2 separate regions of the Homo sapiens genome follow, and region 2 is linked to region 1. The links are contacts of gene promoters, found by promoter capture Hi-C in blood cells and fetal thymus (Javierre and others, 2016). All regions are on one chromosome and are shown on one strand. The core of a region is centred on a gene start or on the middle of the fragment in contact, and the rest is flanking DNA. Distances in the headings are between cores, read along the strand shown.

Region 1 (6,759 bases), core at 1,939-4,438:
ATACTGGAAATATATTTATATATAAATTATATGCTTTATATATAAATATATTTTATATGTAAATTAAAATAGCTTCTCCTAAGTCATGGGATTATGGGTGACTTTTTTTCTTCTTTAAATTTATTCTTTTCTATATTTTCCAATTAAAAACAACTGTTTACTGGATTTTATGAGAAAGAAGAAAAGTACATGATTTGGTTCTGGAGGGTTCCCTGTGGTATGACCCCTCCTACAGCGCTGGCTGACACTCCCTCAAGGGGAGACAGCTTTTGACGCATGAGCTAAATTCAGTTGCTGACATGAGTGGGGAGAGGGAACTACTGCACATGGAGGATAAGAAAGAAGAGCGATCTGCCTCTCCCGGTCTTACTGTCTCCCTCAGATGAGGAATCATCTGTGGCAATTTGACTCTGCCACTTTCTTAGACCCAGTTAACAGCCAGTGATGACTTAGGCAAAGCCGGGAGAGTGTCTCAGACAAAAGGCGCTCAAACCTGTCTGCTGCTTGGGGATCCTCACCTCTCCCCATCTTCCCTCCCATTCTGCAAAATGTCTACTGGGAACCTCCTATAGCCGAGACCCTGGGCAAGGCCCCAGAGATGCTAAGGCATGGATGTTGTCTTGTCAATGATTGTACACCAGGAAGGAGAAGCTACAGATAATGTATGAAAGGTTATAAATACCATATGTGTAGAGAGCCAGGGAAGGCTGAGAGGGCAAGGGCCATCTGCAAATGGCCTGAACTTCCCCTGAGGCATGAATGGGCCAAGTGGAGGCCAGGGCTCACAAAGGAAACTCTGCAGGCAACCCAGGCAGCTCTGAAGTGCCTTTGGCAGCAATGGGTGCTTAATAAAACAAGAAGCATGGCTTAGATCAGGGGTTCCCACCCTAAAGTCCAAAGAAGGCCCTTGGACCCCCAACATTATATGCAAATTTGGGATGTACGTACATTTTTCTAAAGATAGAAAGTTAAGAAGCAATGGATTAGTTTAATCTCTAAGGCCTCTTGCAGTTCTATCAATATAAAACATACAAGAGCCAACAGGCCCATCACCTCCCAAACTCCTTCAGAAATCACTTGGCCTCTTAAAGCTGCTGAGCCCTAGGCTGTGCACTCCACAAGGACAAACTCAATGTGGTGTTGTGTTTAGACATGACCTATTAGCATGGTGCTACTTCCAGAAGGCTGGCGTTACAAGGTGGATGTTAGAGAAAATTAGTACCTAGAAAATTAGTAACTAGACTGTTAACTTTTCTGCACTCCTCACCAAACAAAGCACAGCATTTCACATGCTGTGGATGCTCAAACAGCCAAGGAATAGGAATAAGGGTACCCCTGCTTTCCAAACCCTCTGCAGGAGATGAGCACACTTGACTTTGGGGGGCCACCAAACTCCATTCTCAAGCTGTGGGAGCCTGAGTCTTAAGACAGAGGGCCACAGCATTCTCAACAATTTGGAATGGCTATAAAAGGGGCCAAGAAAATGGCTGGCCTTGAAGTTGGGAAGATTGAGGACTGGAGTGAAGCCTGTTCTCTAAAGATAAGAAGGGCCTCTGGTGGACTTCTCTGAATGCAGGGTGAACAAATTGACTTCTTGAGCCTCCCTCCAGCCCAAGGATTCTGTAATTGAAGGGAATGGATGACTCATTCTCAGAGTTACAGGCGTTTAGCCAAGCATCTCCTCACATGCATCTAGGACTTAACATCCCAGGTCTGCTGCCCACTCTTTAGATGGCTCTGCACAATTCATTTAACTTCTCTGCGCCTCGGTTATCTCACCTGCAAACTCAGCAACTGGATGAGACAATGCCAATATCCCTTCCATCTCTAAGCGTCTTTAATATTATTATTAAGCCATTAAGATCAAATAAGAGAAAGGGGAAAAAAAAAGCATTCTGCTTCTGGACTCAGCTTCTGTTGAGTCTCCAAGATATATACACAGGAGCTCTGCTTTAGAGAAGGAAATGATAAAAGGAGGACAAGTAGCATCCCCAGGCCACCTCCGTTCCCAGGCCCGCACCCATCAGAACTCAGCTGCAACTGTGAGGCCCCCATGTGAGTGCCAAGCCCCTTGAAAAACAAGGGAAGAGGTTTTGCCCGTGAATGATGTGTTGCTAAAAAGTGAAGACGTAAGACATCCCCACCAACATAAGGCGCTCCAGAGACCAGGAGCTCTTCCATTGTGCCTCCTGGGCCTCGGTTTCATCATCCATAAGATGGGGAGACTGGGAATGGCTTTACACTTGAATACTTCAGGTTGACCACCACAGCCAAGGGCCAAGTAGAGTGGACAGGTATTGGGTAGGATGGGAAGGGGGACCAGCAAAAATTGTGGGGTAAGATTTTGACGCCTGCACAAACACAGATCTCTTCAGAGCCCTCAACTGAAGGCTTCCCATTGGTCCCCTGTCTGGGATGGAGCACCAGGAGTGACCGGAGGGACTAGGCGCTGGGCTCCGGGGTGGGCTGCCAGGACCCTGGGCCGGCTCACCTGATGAAGGTGGTCTTCCCAGTGGAGTACTGGCCCACCAGCAGAACCATGGGCTTGTTGTCGAAGTCGGCATCCTCCAGGGCGGGCGAGTGGAACTCGTGGAAGCGGTAATGCTCTTCCAAGGGCAGCAGCTTGCTCTTGTAGAGTTTCTTGAGCCCCTCACTCACCGTCTGGAAAACCTCGGGGTCCTTCCTCCGGCGGTCGTCCGTACCCAGCCAGCTGAACATCGCGGCCGCCGCTCGCCCCCGGCACGCAGCCCCAGGGGAAGACTCCTCCTCAGGGGAAGATGTCCCGTAGGACCGGTCCGCCGGGCTCCGAGCCGCGCCGCCGCCTCACCCAAGCGCGGGGCTCAGCCGCACCATGGCCCGGGCACGCGGCTAGGAGGGCCGGGAGCGCACTCTCCCTGCTCCTGGGACCAAGCCCAGCCGCTGCTGCATCCAGCAGCCCAGGCCGGAGGGAGGATAAATAATCTGGGCTTGAGGAGGAGGGGTGAAATCTTGGCAATTAAAGTTGAACCTGCAAGGAAACTGCCAGATGCCGGGGTCCCAAGCCGGGGTCCCCGATCGGCCCCCAGCCCTCGCCTGCTCTGCCCTGCGTGCAGCAAGGGATGCTTCGGCTCCGCTCCTGCCGGACCGAGGCGGCTCAGGGGAGACGGCGACGCTGCCCAGCCCGCGGACAGCTCTGCATCCGCAGCAGCATCCTGCAGCCCCAGGCGGTGGTTTAAATGCCAGCTGGGCAGGAAGCCGGCGCGCAGAGGAAGTCCCCTAGTACTGGCAAGGCAGGGCCGGCCCCACGGTTGCGGCGACGGGAAGCCGCGCAGGGCGCCGCCATGTTTGTGGGCAGGCGCTCAGCTCTAGACCTGCGGCCGCGCGGGGAGAGGGATGCTGACCCAGTCCAGTGGGAGAGTGCCGGTGTCTCAGTCTCCGCCTCTGGGGCTTCGATTTGGGAACAGCGCCCTCTCAGGGACGGCTGCGAGGACAGAGTTGACCTATTCATCACACTCCCTGCTTTGAATCGCCTCTCCTTCAGTTGCTGAGGTCAATTCCCTAGGAAAACAGGTACTCTAGTATTGGGGGATTTTTTTTTTTTTTGGCATAGAAAGGGGATCCACTATCAGGTTACACAAAATAACCAAAACTGTCACTACCCAAACTTTTAGCTAGGCTTAGGGTGAAGTCAAAATCGTTCCCATTTACTTATTCATTCATTCCAGCAAAACAAAACAAGCCAAGAAGCAAAATCCCTGCAAGTATTGGGAATTTATTATGGGGCAGTTACAATTTTGGTGACTGTGGATACAGAGATGAGTGCTGAACAGACTCTCCCTTCCAGGAACTCCAGTGAAGGCAGGCTTTAAAGAGGAGGCATGAGCAGAGGGTCATGGGAATACAGGGAGGAGTCACTCCTTTTGTGTGGCTAATTTGAGGAAGGCTTCATGGAAAGCATGACTGTAAGCTGGATCCTAAATGATGAATTGACATCCATTGTTCTAGGAGCGTAAGGAGTATTTGCAAAGGCTTGAGGAACTTGGTGTGTCCAAGGCAGAGTAAACAGTTTGGCATAGCTGGAGTGTAGGGTTTAGGAAGGTGAAAGAGAGTGAGGGAGGCCAAGCATGAAAGGCTTTGCCAGAGATGGGGAACCAATAGCAATGCTATTACTAATCATTGTTACATTAACAAAATGCTCAGCATGTGCAGGGGCCTGGGCTAAGTTCTCAGTGAACATTGCTTTATTTAACCTTCATGGCAGATCATATTATCTCCAGCATCATACTAAGGAGAGTGAGTGGGAACACTGTCCAGGTGTAGGCAAAAGCAGTGCATCGTGTGTAGAGAATTTAAACCCAATAATAAACTTGCTGAAAGTTGATGTGCTTTGTATTGGCACCATTCTAAACAGTGTAGTGATAAAACACTCCTCCCTGCCCAGGCTAATGACTCCCACTACCCTCCCTTCCACAGATGAAGAAGGAGTAGGCTATGGACCAGGCAGGAACTGGAATGCCAAGAGCAGTGTTGGAGGGGCAAAAGAGGTTGGGGGTTGATATGGTTTTGCTTTGTGTCCCCGCATAAATCTCATCTCTAATTGTAATCCCCATAATCCCCATGCGTTTAGGGAGAGAGCTGGTGGGAGGAGATTGGATCATAGGGACAGTTTCATTCATGCTGTTCTCATGATAGTGAGTGAGTTCTCGTGAGAGCTGATGGTTTTATAAGGGGCTCTTCCCACTTGGTTCCTCATACTTCTCTCTCCTGCCGCCTTATGAAGGACGTGTTTGCTTCCCTTTATGCCATGACTGTAAGTTTCCTGAGGCCTCTCTAGGCATGCAGAACTGTGAGTTAATTAAACCTTTTTCCTTTATAAATTACCCAGTCTTAGGTATTTCTTCACAGCAGTGTGAAAACAGACGAATACAGAGGCCAAGAGACCATTTAGGAAACTATTCCAAAACTTAGGAGACAGCTGCAATGGGATTGGAGAAGAGGTCAGACTCAAAAGATTTTTTTCATGGAATAGAATTGTCAGATCTTGGTATGTGATAAAAAAAAGAGGACATAAGGGTGAGGCACAGTCTAGGATGATTTTGAATTTTCTACCATAGGGGATAAGATCATTGGAGAAGCTCTTCCACTAATTAGGGGAGGCAGAGAGAGAGCTGATTTAGCAGACAGAGATAATGTGTTCAATCTAAAACGTGTTGCGTTTGAAGTGCCTGCAGGAGCTTCAAGAGGAGTGTGGTGAAGCTGCAGGGATTTCAGGGGAGGGGGGATTATCAGAGGCCAGTGCTGAATAGAATCTCCTTAGTTACATCTCAGATCTCCCGACTCCCTCCTTGAACCCCAAAACTGATCATCTCTTGTTGAGAATTCACTCAGATTAATATTTCACCCTTGGTGTTTAGCTACTACCAACATACGAACCTAAGGAGTAATATTAAAGATATTTAACAACTCACAAGGCATGAGAATCAAACACCCGGAACAGACACTGGCCTTCCTAGTGGAGCAAGGCTTGCGGCCCCGTGCCACGCCTGGTGTTAATACAGTGGCGTCTGGACCTTGGAGAGATCTGAGCCTGTCCCCGGAGAGAGGTCAGTATGGCCAGCGTGACAGGAAAGAAATCAAGGGGCCCCATTATGGAAGTATTTCAAGAATTTTGTAATCAGTACGGCCATGCCATTGTCTACTGCTGAATGTCTGTTCCGAATATCTAATTTACCAAGTGCGTGTTGACACATCTACTCCCGTCTCAGTCTTGAGTAGTTGAAATCTATCTGTTTAAAAAAGGAACTAATGGAGCATTTCTATAGACTAGCAATAAAAGGTCATGAAAGATAATATTCAAAAAAGATACTGTGTTCAAAAGAACAAAAACTTACGGATAAATCTGACAAAAGATATGCAAGATCTTTATGTGAAAAATAATAAAACTTTATAGAAAGATGTTAAAGAAGTTCTAAGTAAATGGGAGAGACATGCCATGTTCCATTGTGGAAGGATTCCTTGTCACAAACATGTGAATTCTTTACAACATGATTGATAAATTCAATAATTGAGAGATATGATTGAAATCAAAATCTAAATAAGGTTTTCCATGGAAATTGACAAGGTGATTCTAAAATGTATAACTTATAGAGCAATAGTAAAAAAAAGCTTAGATATTCCAGGAGAAGAAAGAAGATAAGAAGAATAAGGAGGAGGAGAGGGAGAGGTGGAAGGGGAAGGAGGGCAGAAAAAGGAGAACAGAGAAGAGAAGAGGACAACAGTAACATAGCAATGGCAACAACTAAGCGAAGAGGACTTGCCCTAGTGGACATTGTTATGGAGTTACAGTGGTTAATATGGTTTTGGCACAGAGACCAACAGAATAACAACACAGTAAATAGCCAGGAAATTTGGAAGCCTGACATATACAGAAGTTGCAATAGAGATTGCATATATATCACCACAAAGTCAGGAAGAGTTCTTTAAACAAGACGTCAGAAGCACAAACTGAAAAATGAAAAAAACTAAGTTTAGCACTAGCAAAATTTAAAACTTTCGTTCAACTAAAAATACAAAAGTGAGTGAAAAGATATTTCCTATACACAAAAACCCATGAAAGCACATCCAGAATATAGAACTAATGGCTGTGCATCGATAACAAAGACAAACATTCCAATAGAAAAAAACTTGGCAAGAGCTACAAAAATGTCTTTTACAAGAGGCTACATGAATGCCCTATAAACGCAAGAAAACATGTTGCATCTCATTAGTAATTAGAGAAAT
Region 2 (7,424 bases), core at 3,607-6,106, 510 kb after region 1:
TTTTTGGGGGGACATATGTTTTTATTTCAATTGGGTGTATAGTTATGAGTGGAACTGCTGGATCATACGGAAATTCTATTTGTAAATTTTTGAGGAACCACCAAACTGTTTTCCAAAGCAGCTACACCATTTTACATTCCCACCAGCTGCAAATGAGAATTCCATTTTCTCCACATCCTCAGCAACCCTTGTCATTGTCTGTCTTTTATAGCAATCCTAGGGAGTGTGAAGTGATATCTCACTGTGGTTTTGATTTGCATTTTCATGATGACTAATGATTTTGAGCATCTTTTCAGTGCTTGTGGGTTATTTTATATCTTCGGCGAAATGTTCATTTAGTTCTTTGTCCATTTTTAAGCTGGGTTACTTATATTTTTACTACAGAGGAGTTATAGATGTTCTTTGTATATTGTAGATACGAATTCCTTATATATGTGATTTGCAAAATTTTTCTCCCCTTCTGCAGGTTGTCTTTGCAGTTTTTGATGCCATCATCTGTAGCATATGAGTCTTTAATTTTGATGGAGTCTAATTTATCTATTGTTTTCTTTTGTCACATATTTTTGGTGGTATAGCTGAGAAATCATTGCCCAACCCAAGGTCAAACTATTTATTCTGTTTTATAGTTTAGCTCTTACATTTAGGTCTTTGATCCATTTTGAGATCATTTTTTATATGGTGTGAAGTAACGTTCTAATTTCATTCTTTTGCATTCATTCATTTGTCCCAGCACCAGTTGCTGAAAAAACTATTCATTCTCCTGTTTCTTTGTCTTGGAACCCTTTTCAAAAATCAATTTAATATAAGAATGTATTTATGGACGTTCCTTTCTGTTCAATTGATTTATGTGTGTATCTTATGCCAGTATCACACTTTGTTGATTGCTACAATTTTATAGTAACTTTTGAAATTAGGAAGTGTGAGTTTTCCAACTTTATTTTACTTTTCAAGACTATTTTGGCTCTTCTGGGTTCCTTGCATTTACATATAAATTTTAGAATCAATTTATCAGCTTCTGGGATTTTGATAGAGATTACATTAAATCTAAAGGTCAATCTGGGGAATATTGCCATCTTCACAATATAAAATCTTTTGTTCCATGCGTCTCTTCATTTTTCTATATCTTCTTTAATTTTTTTGAACAATGATTTACAGTTTTCAGTGTAGAAGTCTTACACTTTCCTTGTTAAATTTATTCCTAACTATTGTAGTTTGGGATGCAATTTTAAATAAAATTGTTAATATTATTTTCAGATTTTCATTGCTAGTGTACAGCAATAAAAATTATTTTTATATTGATCTTATATCCTGCAACCTTGCTAAACTTGTTTATTAGTTCCAATATTTTTAAAGGGCTTCCTTAGAATTTTATATATTCAAAAGTCATGTAATCTGCAATAAAGTTTTATTTTTCCACTCCAATATAGAGGCTTTTTATTTCTTTTTCTTGCCTAATTGTCTGGCTAGAACCTCTAATACAATGCCGAATAGAAGTGTACAAAGCAGACAACCTTGTGTTCCTGATCTTGGGGGAAAACACCCAATCCTTTGCCATTAAATATGATGATCACTGTGAGTTTTTCATAGATACCATTTGCCAGGTTGAGGAAGTTCACTTCTATTTGTAGCTGGCTGAGTTAACACACTTTTCATTACTTGCTTGATGTCAGTATTCTCTGCTAGACTATAAGCCTGGGTATGTCTTGTTTGTTGCTATTTCCTTAGCACAAAGCGAAACACCTACCCTGGAGAAACTAGTTGGTAACTTTCTCCCAAATAACCGAAATAAATCATTCTTTCAGGTTTATACCTTCCTTTGTTTTGTTCTCATCCTAGCATTTGTTAGTATTAGCTTACATCCTAGTCTTCCTGCTATTTTAGCTATTCTCTATTTTCTTCCCCTTTGGTGTACTGGAAGGCAGGTAGTTAATATTATCTTGTTATTATCTCTAATACATCATGACCCATATTATCTTATGAAGGCCTATTTTTCCCTCACTTTTTTGAAAAATTTGAAAATTTCCCTCACTTTTTTGAAAAAGTTGAAAGTGTCCTGGTCACTTCAACTCTATCCAATATTCCCTTACTTTGCTATTACAAAGTTTCTTCTAGGAGTTCCAACACTCTGAGGTCAGCAAAGAGACTTTTATCGTTAGCCAGGATTCGATCCAGAGAAGTCCCTCTCCTTGCTCACTTGATCCTCCGTGTTACAAAGTGTCCCTGGAGCGAGCAAAGTCTTTGTCCTGAGTTAAGCGAGCTTCTCCCAGAGATGAGGGTTATTGGAGCTCCATCACCAGTCTACTTGGTTTCCAGGTCACTCCCTACAAAACTGTGTACAAGAGGTCTTTTATCTGCCCTTGGACTCACCGGGCAAGTTGAGGTATACTTTTGTTGTAAGAATACTTCTGTTCCTCTCTCTGGCTCATCTTCAACCCATCTGCTCTCCTCTGACCTAGCAGATTGGGATATAGGTATATGCAACTGGGATGAACTCCTCTTCCTCTCTTCCCATCATATATATTTCTTTTAAACAAAGTGTATGCCTTGTTGTCACATTGCAGGCAATACCTATGTTAAAATATGTTAAAATATGTTTAAATATAAAGTTCATACTTGAAAGAATGCTAACACTTAACTCATTGCTCTGTGCTCCTTGGACACTTGAGGCTGTATTGATTTTAATTGATTTCAGAGTCTAGAGGTTTAATACACGGCAAATCACACCCTGCTGAGAGTTTGTCTAGCTAATGTCATCTACATCCATGTTGATCTATCAATATGCCAGTAAAATGCCTTATTCTAACAAAATTGTCATTTATAACAATTTCCCACTGTATAAAAATACAGTTTCTTGAGGAAAGGGCCACCTTCTCCTATTCTGCAGGATTTAGGTGAAATATGACAACAGTGGCCCTGGTCTTACTGAGACCAACAACCATTTTCTGCAGGATGAGTCTACTTCTAGCCCAGTAAATCCATCTCTCCAATCTCATTCTGTTCATCAAAAGAAATTCTTTTCGAGAGACCTGGCTAGATGTTCGGTTGAAGACTGACACCCCAGGGCAGATGGAACTGTCAGAGTTCAAGTTAAACTCTCCTATACTTCTGAGTTGAGAGTTGTGAGTCTGGATGTGCCTCTGGTGATGTGAAAACACTCAACACCATTGGCAAGCATACACCTGGTGGTTACCAGGCACCTTGAGATGCCAGGGTGTCCAGCCTTCTGGAGCTGGCTTTGGAAGAAAAATGTATCCAACTGGGAAACCGACATGTACACTCCAAGGGCATAAACCAAGGAGGAGGAAGAGTTGGAATCCGGGAAACAGAAGATCCAACACTAGACAGAGACAGGGAAGTCCAAGGACCAGCGCTATGCAGCAGAGCAAGAGAGTGAGCCATTCCGAGAGGAGCTGGAGGGGTGGCCTTTGGGGAAAATGGGAGCAATTTTTGATCAGATTGCTTAATTATAGAAAAAATAATGTTCAGAGGGATTTTGAAATTCTGCTGGAGAGCTTTGGAAGAATTAGTAGGATAATGACTTAAACTAAGCAGACAAAAAAGTGAGGTAGTTATTAACTCCTGGAAGAATAAAGAGTTACAGAAGAGAGAAAATGTGATCCTAGAGTATTTTTTCACTCAGCAGTGAACAGTACATATATAATTGTAATAAAATACAAATGGAATATTGATTTAACAAAAATGTGACATAAATATATCAGAAGGAGGGAAGATGTAGACATGAAAGGGGGTTAGAAGCAACCCCACCCCATCTTGCATCATAAGAAGTCAATAGGCATTTAAAATTGACAAATCAAGAATTAACTGCATAAGCACATTACCTAGAAATATGGAGGTAAACATCAGAAGAAAGAGTTTAGGGAGGGGAATTTGGATAGAAATGGGACAAGAACCTGCTATTTTTCCTTCGTGCCTTGTAGTACTCTTTGAATTTTCTAACCATGTATCTTGGACTGAGTTTTCATGGAAAAAAAAATAGGCAAACTAGCAAGTAGTCTGAGAGACAAGAGAGGTGGAGGGAGGCAGGGAAGAAGAGTTGAGGCCTCTTTACCCCATGGGTAGGGCAGCTGGCTGATTATTGCAGAAAACATGACTATGCACGAATGTCACTTTATTCCAAGCCCCCTGCACTTGAGAAAAACCACTCCTCTGCAGAAGTCCAAAGCTAGCCATCTGGAGCTTGGATGGGACAGAGCTCAGGGCTGTTGTTACTATAGCAGCCCCTGGCCTCAGCCCTTCTAACCTGCCTGGAGATGGGAGGAACATCTCTCCCCCAAGTTTCCCTCCACTCCAGTGCCAGCCCTCAAGGTGCTAAAATGGGCTATGATATGAACTCAAGCTTGGGGCAGGACAGGTGGGGGGGTGCCCTTTAAGGAATTTTGAAGAATGGGGTAGGGTCATCCATTAAGGGGCCATGGGCACGTTGGGGTCTGTCAGCCTTGCCAGCAGGAAGTGCCAGTGCTTCCTTTACTGTGGGATGATCCAGAACAGCATCTTTGGAATGGGGCCCCACTTCCATGGTCACTCAAAGGAAGGAGTTTCTTTACTCACCCTTGGCCCTCTGCATTTGCACCCCCGTGTCTTTCTCTAGGACAAGCTCCCAGTGATCACTCAAGAATCTGGCTCTCATTCTAAGAGGCTGTGCTGCCCAGTATGGTGGTTGTGATAAATCTAAACCAGCCCTGCATGAAACAGAGTCCAAGCTGTCTCCCAACAGCCTGGGTTCGGTCCTTGGCTGGCCCAGGCCCAGTTAAGCCTGTGGCCACCAAGCAGCTCATCTGAGCACTTTGGGATGTATTCAGCCTACGTTGCCCTGGAAAAGGAAGCAGGAGATGTCTCCCTGTGGGAAAGGAGAAGAGAAGTTGTCTCTGAGTCCCCTGTCACCAGTTGGATTCATTTCTTGGAAGAGCCAGAATGAGCCACTTTGACCACCCTCGGGTGCTATGGGTGACACAAGAGCTGTCCACTGGGTGTTTGCAGAATAATTACACTATCTTATGTCTGGATCCTGATGATTTCACAGCTAAATGGCAAAAATAAAACATGTTTCCCATAAAGGTCTCTCATTCATATTCTGTCTTAAAAATACATTTGGGGAAGAGGAAAAGTACCCAGCAAGGCAGACGCTTCCCTCACTCTCTCCTCATCCATGGTGCGGTCACTGGGTGTCTCAAAAAGGTGAGGCCCACAGAGGATGGAAGAGATTCCACAGCATAACTGGGCCAGATCCCGCTCAGAAGAATTTGCAGTTGGAAAGCTCATTTCTGGATGCATCAACCCAGTAGGGGAATCGTTGCAAATGGGTGTGTCAAAAGGACAGGAAGGTGGGAAGCTTGCTGAGTGTGACTTTCTGAGTGGCACGGTCGGAGGACAGGATGGTGTGGACAGGGCTGCATCATCACACACACACCCATGCCAGGAGCAAGGGCAGTGCTCGGCAGTGATGGCATGCTGTATACAAGTACCAAACAGGCCCAAGTGACCTCATCCACAGGGACTGTTGTAAAGCCTCCACAGTCATTTCAAGTAGAATAGCTACCTGCCTAAGGAGTTGAACCCCTCTTGCTAATGCTTTTGAATAGCGAGAGGGTCAGACACACAGCAAAGTTTGGGACAGGTCACTTTGCCTCCCAGTCCCCTGCTTGGTTAGCCAGGATAGATGCCCATGTTTGTGAGCATGGACTTTGGAGTTAAAGCTAATATCTAAAGATCCTGAATCCTAGGCTGTCAGACTGCCCTGTTGCATAAGATTTTCTGCATGCAAAAAAACTGGGGCTGGCAGGTCAACAGAGACTCTGATAAGTGGGAAAATCCATAAGAATGAATAAGCCATTTCCTGCAGGATTCAAAGATGACCTTCACCCAGGCATCCAGGTAGAAAGTCCAGCCCACCTGCACAATTTGCTGCCACAACCACATGTCATTCCAAGCTCCTTTTGGGCCTGCTTGCACCCTGGAGGACAAGCAGAAATGGATGATTCTGCAGGCCTAGGGTCAGTGGTGAGCAGCCCCAGGGGTCTGCACAGGCTGGACTGGTGTTCTCAGGATACAGGGCAATTTCTTCCCTCACAGGGCTTTGCTCAGGGACCAGTCATTAATTTTCTCTTTAACAGGATTTAAAGGGGCAGGGTCCTCAATTGCTTGATTGAAAAACTGATTCTCCCTGTCATGCTGGGGCTCTGAAGGCTCAGAAAGGCTCCAGGTGGCCACGGCAGAGGGGCCTGGGCTTCCCTGCTTGGAGCTGGGGGAGATTATATTCCAGTCTCCCCAGGGAAGGGCAGGACCTTGATCCTTAGCCCCAGCACAGGGCAGACCAGCCAGCTCACCCCGAGGCTGCATCTCCTTGGGACTCCCCATGTCCTTCAGCCAAAGTTGAGAAAGGGCTCCAGAGCAGGGCGGGCTTGACAGGCTGACGATCTCAGACAAACCCTGCCCCTGCCAGCTTCTTACACTTGGGTCCTGGGATGGGTTGCTTTGTCTCTGCAAGATGAGGAGGTGAGCAAGGACCATGGCTGGTGCCCAGATGGAGGGGTGGGATCCCTCACAGAGCAAATGACAAAGGCTCAGGCACAAATCCCACCTGCCCCCCAGGCTCCCTAGAGCTTCTGCTACTAAAGCCATCGTATGATGGAAGCAAGGTGTCCAGATGAGATTTCTGAGGCCCCGAGAAGAGGTGGCCATGCCATTAGCAGTGGCAGATACAGTGTGTCTCTGGGACACATTTAAAGTAGAGTGTAGAGGGAAATTTATAGCACTAAATGCCCACAAGAGAAAGCAGGAAAGATCTAAAAGTGACATCCTAACATCACAGTTAAAAGAACTGGAGAAGCAAGAGCAAACACATTCAAAAGCTACCAGAAGGCAAGAAATAACTAAGATCAGAGCAGAACTAAAGGAGATAGAGACACAAAAAAACCTTCAAAAAATCAGTGAATCCAGGAGCTGGTTTTTTGAAAACATCAACAAAATTGATAGACTGCTACCAAGACTAATAAGAAAAGAGAGAAGAATCAAATAGATGCAATAAAAAATGATAAAGGGGATATCACCACCAATCCCACAGAAATACAAACTACCATCAGAGAATACTATAAACACCTCTATGCAAATAAACTAGAAAATCTAGAAGAAATGGATAAATTCCCGGATGCATACACCCTCCAAAGGCTAAACCAGGAAGAAGTCTAATCCCTGAATACACCAATAACAGGCTCTGAAATTGAGGCAATAATTAATAGCCTACCAACCAAAAAAAGTCCAGGACCAGACGGATTCACAGCCGAATTCTACCAGATGTACAAAGAGGAGCTGCTACCATTCCTTCTGAAACTATTCCAATCAATAGAAAAAGAGGGAATTCTCCCTAACTCATTTTATGAGGCCAGCATCATCCTGATACCAAAACC

The links. The method cuts DNA at HindIII sites, captures the fragments that hold promoters and counts their contacts. A CHiCAGO score of 5 or more calls a contact.
Region 2: a contact is called between a fragment that was not itself captured here and the fragment with the promoter of EHD3 in region 1, in 2 of 17 cell types (naive CD8 T cells and monocytes). The highest score is 6.6, in naive CD8 T cells.

What each region holds. Positions count from the first base shown.
Region 1 is chr2:31,230,581-31,237,339 of GRCh38, reverse strand. It overlaps EHD3 (EH domain containing 3), which reads right to left and starts at 3,188. Exons shown (of 6, transcript NM_014600.3): 1 at 2,492-3,188. The coding sequence starts at 2,718. It also overlaps a transcript of CAPN14 not described here. The HindIII fragment of the contact is 24,555 bases long and covers 1-6,146 here.
Region 2 is chr2:30,720,422-30,727,845 of GRCh38, reverse strand. It overlaps CAPN13 (calpain 13), which reads left to right. Exons shown (of 23, transcript NM_144575.3): 23 at 4,610-5,075. Among named protein-coding and RNA genes, the nearest start is that of CAPN13, 83 kb to the left of the region's middle. RefSeq lists enhancers at 5,861-6,361, 6,362-6,862. The HindIII fragment of the contact is 993 bases long and covers 4,360-5,352 here.